Linked DNA regions of Homo sapiens: region 1 is linked to region 2. Evidence: promoter capture Hi-C in 16 types of primary human blood cells and fetal thymus (Javierre and others, 2016). All regions are on one chromosome and are shown on one strand. The core of a region is centred on a gene start or on the middle of the fragment in contact, and the rest is flanking DNA. Distances in the headings are between cores, read along the strand shown. Region 1 overlaps MPRIP (myosin phosphatase Rho interacting protein). Region 2 holds the start of NT5M (5',3'-nucleotidase, mitochondrial).

Region 1 (5,230 bases), core at 2,236-4,735, 180 kb before region 2:
ATTCTGAGGCTCCCAGCACTGCTGTGCCTAGGAGGGTAGAACCCATGGGCCTCTTCACTGTGTACCAGGTGTTCCCAGCTGGCCTCATCTAGCCAAGCCTCCCACGGAACTCCCAGAATCACAGGTCTGAGGCCTCCGTCCTGCCAGTCCCCAGTCTGTATTGGTGGGCAGTGGGAAAGGGCCTGCCCCGCATGCATCTGCAGCTGGGGAGAGGGGTCAGAAATGTTTTGCAGGTAGTGTCTGGGGCCAGGTGCTGTCAGCCTGGGGCTCAGCAGAGGGGCAGACCCTGCTCTCCCCTGGAATGTGGCCTGGGAAACCAGCCTCTGGTGCTCCCCAGGGCCCCAAGGCAAGGGCCAGAGAGGCACAGGGAGAATCTGCACGGTACTCAGCTGCCTTTGGATTGACCCTTCGGCTTGGTCCATTGTTTTCAAGAGCCCTTATCAGCCATCTTAGCACAAGTAGATGGCCATGGTCTCTGAGTAGAGGATGTGCCCCCTCCCCTTGCAGAAGACGGTGGCCCATGATGCCCAGAGCTCCTCAGTCCACTGAGCCCTGCCTCTCTGCCACAGGGTAGAAGACGGAACATGCCCGACACTGTCCTCCCTCCTTCCCAAACATTCGAGGAAAGTTGTTGAACCCATCGTCTTCTGACCACCACCCTTGCTTGGTAGGAGAGTGGTGATGTGCACTGAGAAGCAGCAGGCGGCACGGGTGTGCCATCCCGAGCCTGAGCTCGAGTCCCGCTTCAGCTGTGCAGTATCGTTTGTAGTCTTGTGACAGAAGGGGGTAGATTATCACCCCAAAGGGAAATCTCTAGGCCAAAACATTAGGCCACTTCTCATTCCCCTCCCCTAGCCCCTGGCAACCACTCCTCTGCTTTTTCTCTATGGGTTGGCCTTTTCTGAACATTTCACCAAGATGGAGTCACACAGTGTGTGTCCTTTTGTGACTGGCTTCATTCACTTAGCGTGATGTTTCCAAGGTTTGCTCATGTTGGAGCATGTGTCAGGATTTCATTCTTTTTATGGCTGAATAAAATAATATTCCATTGTATGAATATTGCATTTTGTCTATCCATTTGTCCACTGATGGACATTTGGGCTGTTTCCACCTTTTGGCTATCGCGAATTATGCTGCTACGATATGATTTGTGTATATGTTCGAGTACCTGTCTTCTGTTCTTTTGGGTATATATCCAGTAATCAACTTGTTGGGTCATATGGAAACTGTCTGTAATTTTTTGAGGAACTGCTAAAGTTTTCCACAATAGCTACACCACTTTACAATCAAAACGAGGCCTATATTTACTACCATTTTACATTAGGGAAACTGAGGCTCACAATTTGCGACTTGCCCAGAATCACAGAGCTAGTGAGTGCAGAGCTAGGACTTGACTCCAAGGGTAGGCTCTTCTTGGCTAGAGAGCTCTGAAAACAGATTGCTTAGAGTCTACCTTAGATCTCAGAACTTCTGCAGAGGGAAACAGCTGGGAGAGCAGTGGTTTGTGGCTCCAGCTCTTCCTCCTGTCCTGGGCTGATGGAAGCCCCATGAGCTGGTCTCCCTGGCCTGTGCTGTAGGTCCAGCCTAGGTAGCCCTGGCTGGCCAAAGCTGCCTAAGGTCCTGGGAGTCTCACGGGGGCTGTGTGGCTAGCCCAGGTCATGGGGTGGTCTCCCGGCCCTTCTTTCTGCAGCCAAACTACTTCTAGGAGCCTGATCTAACAAATCACAAGCCTCTCTTTTGAGGATGTGCTGGGGACCACCCCAAAAGCCATCGGGTGTAGAATGGGCATCCAACTCTTGGCCCAAAGTCCCTCTGGGGTTGCAGGACCCTCTCTGGGGTCTGCCAGGTTGTAGCATGCAGGTTTCATGTGGGACACCTGAAGGGTGGGGAAGAGTGCAGAATCATGGCTCCCTTCCCAAGGAGGTGATAGGACCTGGAATCAGACCTGACACCTGAGGACAGGCATTGGGATGAGGGCTCAGCCCAGCCTAGGGGCTGTTCCATGCAGCTTCAGGAGGCTACAGTGTGGAGGATGATTGTGGAACTGCCCTTTGAACCATGAGGACTGTGGAGTACACCAGGACTGGCGGTGACGACTGGGAAGGGGGAAGGGAGTTCTGCCTGGTGGGTACCTGCTAGGCCCATTGTCAGTCCCTAGGCGTGGTTGGCCTAACACTTCTCTGAGTTGTGGCACAGAGGCCAGGCAGAGGCTTTGCTTACTCTGGGCCTGCATGGGATCATGACCCCTTTTCTGCGGCTCTTTCCAGTTTCCTCAGAGGACTTGGGCTTTGGGGATATCTGTCTGTGGAGAGTGCTGCTCCCTGGGGAGGTCTGCAGCCCCAGAGGGACTTTGGGCCAAGAGTTAAGTGCCCTTTCTACACTTGATGGCCTTTGGGGTAGTCACCAGCACCTCCTCAAAAGAGAGGGGCTTGTGATTTGTTAGATCGGGCTCCTAGAAGCAGTTTGGCTGCAGCAAGAAGAGCCGGGAGACCACCTTTGACCTGAGCCAGCCACACAGCCCCCATGAGCCCTGCTCCTGTGTTGTGCCTCCCAGGATGTGGGTTCCAGGGGCGCCTAGGAACTCAGCTGGTGCTCCCCAAGGGCTGTGTTCCTTCCTGAGAAAACTCTGGAGCCAATGTCCTGAATTCCAAAGAAAGGAAGGACCTCTCCTTAGACCTGGCTCGAGCAGCCAGACCATGTCTGCAGCACAGCCCACCAGCCCAAGGGAGGAGGGAGGTGGTGTTCCTGCCTGGGCGCTGCCTAATCAGGCCATAGCTCAGTGAAGTGCCAGGCTGAAGGCAGGGGCCGTGCTGGGCAAGTCTCCACGTGGTCCAGGCTGGGTAGCCCTGCCTACAGTTTCTCTGATAAACTTAGGCATGACCTTGTGCAAACAATTGTTAAGTCCAGGGAGGAAAGATGCCAAGGAGAGAGGGGCAAGGGTGCCAGTCAGAGAGGACCACACTTGTTCTGGGTGGCCCACAGAGTGCCACGTCCCATAATCACTTGGAGCCCCAGCTTGTACATTTGAAAGTCAGAACAATGATGTGCCTGCCTCCTGAAGCTGTCATCAGTACCTGTAGCTACTCAGGGCCTGGCCACAGTGAGCACCCAGGAAGTGGTGAATACACTTCCTGCTTCTACTGCAAGGCAATTCCCTGTGTCCTCCCTAGAACGTGCCGAGCTGCCTGTCCCTGCCAGAGTGCAGATGAGCAAGGCGACCGCTCAGCCCCAAAGTTTGCAGACAAAGCTTTTCATACTCCTTAAGTGGGTCACAGTGCATATGAAAAAATAATAAATACAGTGCACATGGTAGAAATACTGACTCACCGTTTTCCATTTCATGTGCATGTGTGCACTTGTGTGTGTGCTCATCATGGTGTGAATGTGGTGTTCCATGTGGGCCTTGGTTGGATGAGTTTGTGAAACATGCTGTCTCAGGACCTCAGGTGTGGGGGGAAGTCAGGTTTCACCTTGAAATCCCCTTTCTGACCTTGAGATTTTGGGAGTAATTCTTTGCCCTAGGGGAAAGCCTTTGTTTCTTGGGTCTCTGTTTTCTGGTCTGAATGAGGGATTGGGGGATAAAGGGAAGACTCCCACCCAGGTCTCACGTGCGACTGGTTCTGTAACAGCAGCTGCCTGGAAGGAAGGTCCTCCTGATGATAACGCCAAACAGCCTCTCACCATATTTCTGCTTACTTTCCTCTTGTTTCCCTCTGGCTCTTAGAAGCTTGCCTTCCCACACTCATGGGGTCAACAAGAAACAAAGGCCTGTTTTCCCAAAAGTGCTTCTGCTTGGGCCAGGGGTGTGGTGGAGAGTCCCCGGTTGGAGAGGCTGCTATAGCAGTATTATCCTAACCCAGGAAGGTCACTCTGGCCTCTGACAAGATGCCCTGGCTGCAGTGCACAGAGCTTCCAGCCTCCCATGGGCCTGTGGACAGAGGACCGGCAGGAGGAGCAGGGTGTGCTCATCTCTTTGGAGAGAAGCCTGAGTCCTGTGTCCTCCTGCCTAAACAATCTGCAGCCTGTAGCAACTCTGCCCCTTAGCTGGGGTAGGGTGGAGCCCAGAAGAGGACCAGAGGCTCCAGATAGCTGGAGGGCTATGTGGGGGCTGAACCCATAACTTGGTGACATAGCAGAGTCGATGGCCTACAGAGGGCCGTCTCTTTTTTTGGAAAATGAATCAAACAAAACTAGGTGAAGCTCAGCCTCCTAGGAAACCTGGATTCCTGACCTCTGGAGGTATAGAATTAGGGCAGGAAGCTCATCAGAGTTGCTTTGCTGACAGCGTTAGAGCTGAGGCGTTCCTTCTGGCTGGATTTGGGTTACAGCCTAGATATTTGCCCTTACTCTCGCAGCACAAGATTCAGGCCTACCCAGACACAGATGGTTGTATCCTGCCCCCTAGGCAGAGGCAGGGGAGGGGAGAGGTGCTGGCTGAGGGGCTCCCTGGAGCCATTGGTTGAGTCTGTTCAGTCTGGAAATGCTGCTGAGTGCAGAGCAGCAGGGGGACCAGCTCTGGAACCAGAGTGCCTGGGTTTGAATCCTGACATGGCTACTTCCTAGCATTGTGACCTTAAATCAAAATTACAGTTCTGCGTTGTTTAATGACAGGCACACATCCTGAGAAATGTGTTTTCTCAGGCAGTTTGGTCCTTGTGTAAATATTCTAGAGTGCACTTACACAAAGTTAGACAGTACAGCTTATTGCACACCTAGGCTTTGTGGTAGAGCCTATTGCTGCGAAGCCATAAACCTGTACAGCATATACTGCAATATCACAAGCAGTTATAACACAGTGGCAAGTATTGATGTATCCAAACCTAGCAAAACATAGAGGGAGCTGTTGACTAACATCGTTGTGCGGTGCATGACTGCACCTAGCTTCTTAGCAGTCTGCTTCCTTGTCTGCGGGATGAGAGTGACAGTAGTGCCTGCCTCATAGTGTGTTCGGAATGTTCAGTGAGAGGACACGGGAAGAGTTTGCAGCAGTGCGTGGTATTCAAGGGCATGGGCGCAAACATGAGCACCATTGTGCCCTGCGCCTGTGCTGGTGCTGTTGTTGCTGCTTCCCCATCGGCAGCAGGGGAAGGGGGAACACTGCACTACTGAGACTTGGAGGGAGCTATTTTCTTTTTCTTTTTCTTTTTTTAAGTTCAGGGGTGCAAGTGCAGGTTTGTCACATAGGTAAAGTTGTGTCATGGAAGTTTGTTGTACAGGTTATTTCATCACC
Region 2 (5,260 bases), core at 2,519-5,018:
TTCTGGCTTTGAGCAATTTGATTATGATGTGTCTTAGTTTTCCCAAACAAAATAATTTAAATTTAAAAAATACTGCCTGGGTGCAGTGGCTCATGCCTGTAATCCCAGCACTTTGGGAGGCCGAGGCAGGCAGATCACCTGAAGTCGGGAGTTCGAGACCAGCCTGATCAACATGGAGAAACCCCGTTTCTACTAAAGAAAATACAAAATTAGCCGGGCATGGTGGTGCATGCCTGTAATCCCAGCTACTCAGGAGGCTGAGGCAGGAGAATCACTTGAACCTGGAATGTGGAGGTTGCGGTGAGCTGAGATCACGCCATTGCACTCACTCCAGTCTGGGCAACGACAGCAAAACTCCGTCTCAAAAAACAAAAACAAAACAAAACAAACCAAAAAGTGAAATATTTAGGTATAAATCAACAAAACACATGCAGGATCTGTATACTGAAAACTACAAAACATTGGTGTAAGAAGCCAAAGAAAAGAGGGATATACTGTGTTCATGGATTGGAATAGTCAACATAATTAAGAAGTCAAGTCACTCCGAATTGATCTACAGATTTAGTGCACTTCCAACCAAACCAAGGAAGTTTTGTGTGTGTGTGTGTGTGTGTGTGTGTGTGTGTGTGTGTGTGTGTAGATATAGACAAGCTCATTCTAAAATTTATATGGAAAGTCAATGAAACTAGAATAGTTAAAACAATTTTGAAAAAGAAGTTGTGGGACTCACAATACCTAATATTAAGACTTACTATGAAGCTAAAGTAATCAAGACAGTTTGCTAATAGCAAAGGGAGAAACATACAGATCAATGGAACAGAATAGGAGAGTCTAGAAATAGATCCACAGAAATAGGATGGATGGAGTTTGTTTTTGAGACGGAGTTTCACTCTTGTTGCCCAGGCTCGAGTGCAATGGAGCGATCTCTGCTCACTGCAACCTCCGTCTCCCGGGTTCAAGCGATTCTCCTGCCTCAGCCTCCCGAGTAGCTGGGATTACACGCATGCGCCACCATGCCCGGGTAATTTTGTATTTTTAGTAGAGACAGGGTTTCTCCATGTTGGTCAGGCTGGTCTCGAACTCCCGACCTCAGGTGATCCGCCCGCCTCGGCCTCCCAAATCCTGGGATTACAGGCGTGAGCCACCGTGCGCGGCCTGATGGATGGAGTTTTTAAAAAACTGCAACGGCAACCCAATATAGAAGGCACAGCAGGAGCCCCGCCCCTTCTGAGTTGGCGGGGCGGGAGTTCCCCAGATGCCGCTGCAGTTGCCCTGCTGCGGCTCTGGCCCAGCATCTCTGTGCTCTTGGGAACCTGTGAAGGCTCCACTGCCCCTCGCAGGCTCGGAAGTGCCTGCTCCTGCTGCCTGGCTTCTCCCTGCTGTTGGTGCCTGCTTCAATCTCGGAGCAAAGTCGGGCCGAGCTAGGGCGCCGTCACAGCCCAGCCGGGAGTGCACACGCTCAGGGCAGCACTGACACGCCAGCCCCCTGCCTCCTTGGCCCCCTCCGGACTTGGGTGCCAACAAGCATCGGAGAACGGCCGAGGGGGGCATGAGGACAGCCTGGTGTTGGCCTGCAGGTACCCCTTGGCATGAACAGCCTGGGCGCCATGAACAGCAGCAGGAATGCAGACAGCTCCTCGGTGGAAGGGGGCGGGTCCCTGGTGAAGCCCCACCTTCAATCCTGGAAGGGCCTGAAGCCTGGGGGCCAGGTCACCAGTCCCAGTACCAGAGCGGGGAACTTGTGGTGCTTTTCCCCAGGCCTGCTCATGGCCACCTATGGCCGCCCATGGACCAATCAGCACTCACTTCTTCCCCTCTGAGGTCCATAAAAAACCCTGGACTCAGCCAGACTCAAAGAGAGGACGGGTAGATGGGGAGAAAACCAGCTGCAGAGAGGAACTACCCTTTCTGCTGAGAGCTGGACACTTGTTGGGATGAACTGCCTACCAGAGAGGAGCTACCCTCTCTGCTGAAAGCTGAACACTTGTGGGGAAACCCTGGCTATGGAGAGGAGCTGCCCACTGCAGGTCTCTTCTGAAGTATTCTGTTGCTCAATAAAGCTCCTCTTCGTCTTGCTCACTCTCCACTTGTCTGCCTACCCCATTCTTCCTGGATGCAGGACAAGAACTCGGGACCTGCCAAATGGTGGGGCTAAAAGAGCTGTAACACAGGCTGGGTGCAGTGGCTCACGCCTTTAATCCCAGCACTTTGGGAGGCCGAGGGGGGTGGGGCGGATCACCTGAGGTCAGGAGTTTGAGGCCAGCCTGGCCAACATGGTGAAACCCTGTCTCTACTAAAAATACAAAAATCGGCCGGGTGCGGTGGCTCACACCTGTAACCCCGGCACTTTGGGAGGCCGAGGCGGGCAGATCACAAGGTCAGGAGTTGGAGATCAGCCTGGCTAACATAGTGAAACCCTGTCTCTACTAAAAATGCAAAAAAGCTGGGTGTGGTGGTGGGCGCCTGTAATCCCAGCCACTTGGGAGGCTGAGGCAGGGGAATCGCTTGAACCTGGGAGGTGGAGGTTGCAGTGAGCCGAGATCCTGCCACTGCACTCCAGCCTGGGCAACAAGAGCAAGACTCCCTATCAAGAAAAAAAAAAAAAAAAGGGAGAGAATGTGGTACATATATACCATAGAATACTTCACAGTCATAAAAAAAGAATAAGATCATGTCTTTTGCAGCCATATGGATGGAGCTGGAGACAATTATCCTAAGCAAACACAGGAACAGAAAATTAAATACCTCATGCTCTCACTTAAAAGCGGGAACTAAACATTAAGTAAACATGGACGTAATGATGGGGACAACAGACACGGTGACCTACTTGAGGGTGGAGAGTGGGAGGAGGGTGAGGATGGAAAAACTACCTATCAGGAACTACGCTTATTACCTGGGTAATAATAATCTGTACACTAAACCCCCAAGACAGTCAATTTATATAACAAATCTGCACATGTATCCCTGTACTTAAAAGTTGAAAAGAGGCCGGGCGCGGTGGCTCACGCCTGTAATCCCAGCACTTTGGGAGGCTGAGGTGGGAGGATCGTTTGAGCCCAACATAGGAAGACTCCTGTCTCAAAAAAAAAAAAAAAAAAAAAAAAATTACCAGGGTGTGGTGGCAGGCCCCTGTGGTCCCAGCTACTCAGGAGGCAGAAGCAGGACGATCCCTTGGGCCCAGAAACTCAAGGCTGCAGGGAACCGAGATCATGCCACTGCTTCCACCCTGGGTAACAGAGCAAGACCCCGTCTCCAAAAAAAAAAAAAAAAAAAAGCAATACAGGGGTACTTAATATTTATTCATATATTTACCTGAGAATCATCAGTTTTACTAAGGCTGTATGATGTTAGCAGATATTGGTTCTATCAGTCTCTCCGCAGACATTTGCTGTAAATAAAGCAGAGAGGCTTTCAGAGTGCACCCTGTTTTTGTTCCTCCATCCTGTTGTCTGGATCCCCTTCTAAAACGTAAGTTCCAGGATGGCAGGAACTTTGTCTATTTGGTTCACACTCGACACAGTTAGTGCTCAAAAATGTCTAACGACACAGGCCTGCTTCTCGGTTTGCACTGCTCCTCCATGGTAGTCTGTGCAGTGGGAGAAGGCAGCCCGGGCCCAGGGTCCACGGAGAAGACGCAAATCGACAGCGCGGGAGCGCGGACCTTCTGGAGGCGCGCGGCGCTTACCGCTGTCCGTCCTCGAAGCCCCGCCCCGGGGCTCCGCCTCCGCCGGCGCGTGTTCCTTTAGGGACCGCGCGCGCCGCGGCCTCGCTCTGGGGCCGGTACTTGCGCGCCCGCACCCCGCGCTCCCCGCCCCGCTCCCCGTCCCGCGCTCCACGCGCGCCCCAGCGTTGGGGGCTTCTCCTCCGCGGCGGGAATGTCTGGCCGGCTCCGGCAGCACGGCGCGGCCCAGGTCCCCGCGCCCACGACGGGCCAGCGCGCTGGGCCATGATCCGGCTGGGCGGCTGGTGTGCGCGGCGGCTCTGCAGCGCGGCGGTTCCCGCGGGGCGGCGCGGGGCGGCGGGCGGGCTGGGCCTGGCGGGAGGCCGCGCCCTACGGGTGCTGGTGGACATGGACGGCGTGCTGGCTGACTTCGAGGGCGGATTCCTCAGGAAGTTCCGCGCGCGCTTTCCCGACCAGCCCTTCATCGCGCTGGAGGACCGGCGCGGCTTCTGGGTGTCGGAGCAGTACGGCCGCCTGCGGCCAGGGCTGAGCGTGAGCGTCCCCGCCCCGCCCCGCGCCGGGCCTCCTTCTCGCCCCGAGCCCCAGACACCGCCCCTGCGCCGGTGACCTTGGACGGTCAGCGCCCCAGCCTCGGGGTGGCCCTCTGATAGAATAGGGTCTGGGGGGGACTAGGGGCCACAGCGCACCGGGAAGATGCGGCCCCGCGCTCAGGATCTGTTGGCTGCCATCCAAGGTTTCTGAAAATGCGGGAGAGTACAAAGTGTTAATATACCTAACTCTGCATTTAAAGCTGACTTCAAAATTTGTGGCATATTTGGCCTCAAGTCGTTTGTTAAATTTTTAGAAAAATAAACGTTATAAGTTGTCCTCTTTCACCCCGACCGCAGTCACATTCCCACTTCTTTGTCCCCAGGACTTTGATGGGTGTCTTTACCCATCTTTTTTACTGTTGTCCATGAAAGCATAGCTTCCAGGGGTATTTGAGGCCCAGAGAGGTTGTGTGACTTTCTGGGGGTCACACAGTGAGTCAGTGGTCCAGGTGAGGTGGGATCCACCTCATGTCTTATCCCCTTGCAGAGCTGGCCTTGCTGAACACCTGAGCTCAACCCCTACCATCCGACTCCCGAGGTGTTCTGTCCAGGATGGATAGAGGGGAAAGATCCAAGGAGGGACGTTTACACACAGATCTTGGTTGGTAAATTTGAAGTATTTTGCAAAAGGAACAGGGGATTTTGGTATGCACAAAATTAAAGAGGCTGAGTGTTTTTTGGCATCCCTTGATTGGCCACCTAGGGTTGCTGCTGGAGGGTTTGATAAAGAGGAGAAGGAAGTTACAAGAGCCCGTTTTTTAGCCACAAGTTCACTGCATCCTCTCTTTTGTTGGGTAGATATTATTATCTCTGTTTTCCAGATGAGGAAACTTGCCCCAAGTCACATGCTGCTCAGGGGCTCAGTCAGGACTCAAACCCAAGTCTGTCTGCCTCCCAAGCACAGTTAGTGCTCCCCACTCCACAGTCCTGTTCTCTGTACTACTGTCTCTAACAAGTGACATTTCTTCTGACATCAGAAAGATGCCTC

The links. The method cuts DNA at HindIII sites, captures the fragments that hold promoters and counts their contacts. A CHiCAGO score of 5 or more calls a contact.
Region 1: a fragment that was not itself captured here is called in contact with the fragment with the promoter of NT5M in region 2 in 1 of 17 cell types (activated CD4 T cells); the score reaches 5.1 in activated CD4 T cells.

The regions. Positions count from the first base shown.
Region 1 is chr17:17,116,528-17,121,757 of GRCh38, forward strand. All of the region lies in intron 3 of MPRIP (myosin phosphatase Rho interacting protein), which reads left to right. Among named protein-coding and RNA genes, the nearest start is that of MPRIP, 77 kb to the left of the region's middle. RefSeq lists an enhancer at 2,703-3,228. The HindIII fragment of the contact is 480 bases long and covers 3,246-3,725 here.
Region 2 is chr17:17,299,605-17,304,864 of GRCh38, forward strand. NT5M (5',3'-nucleotidase, mitochondrial) reads left to right here and starts at 3,769. Exons shown (of 5, transcript NM_020201.4): 1 at 3,769-4,213. The coding sequence starts at 3,947. RefSeq lists an enhancer at 1,150-1,725 and silencers at 3,699-3,868, 3,919-4,018, 4,149-4,338. The HindIII fragment of the contact is 19,177 bases long and covers 1-5,260 here.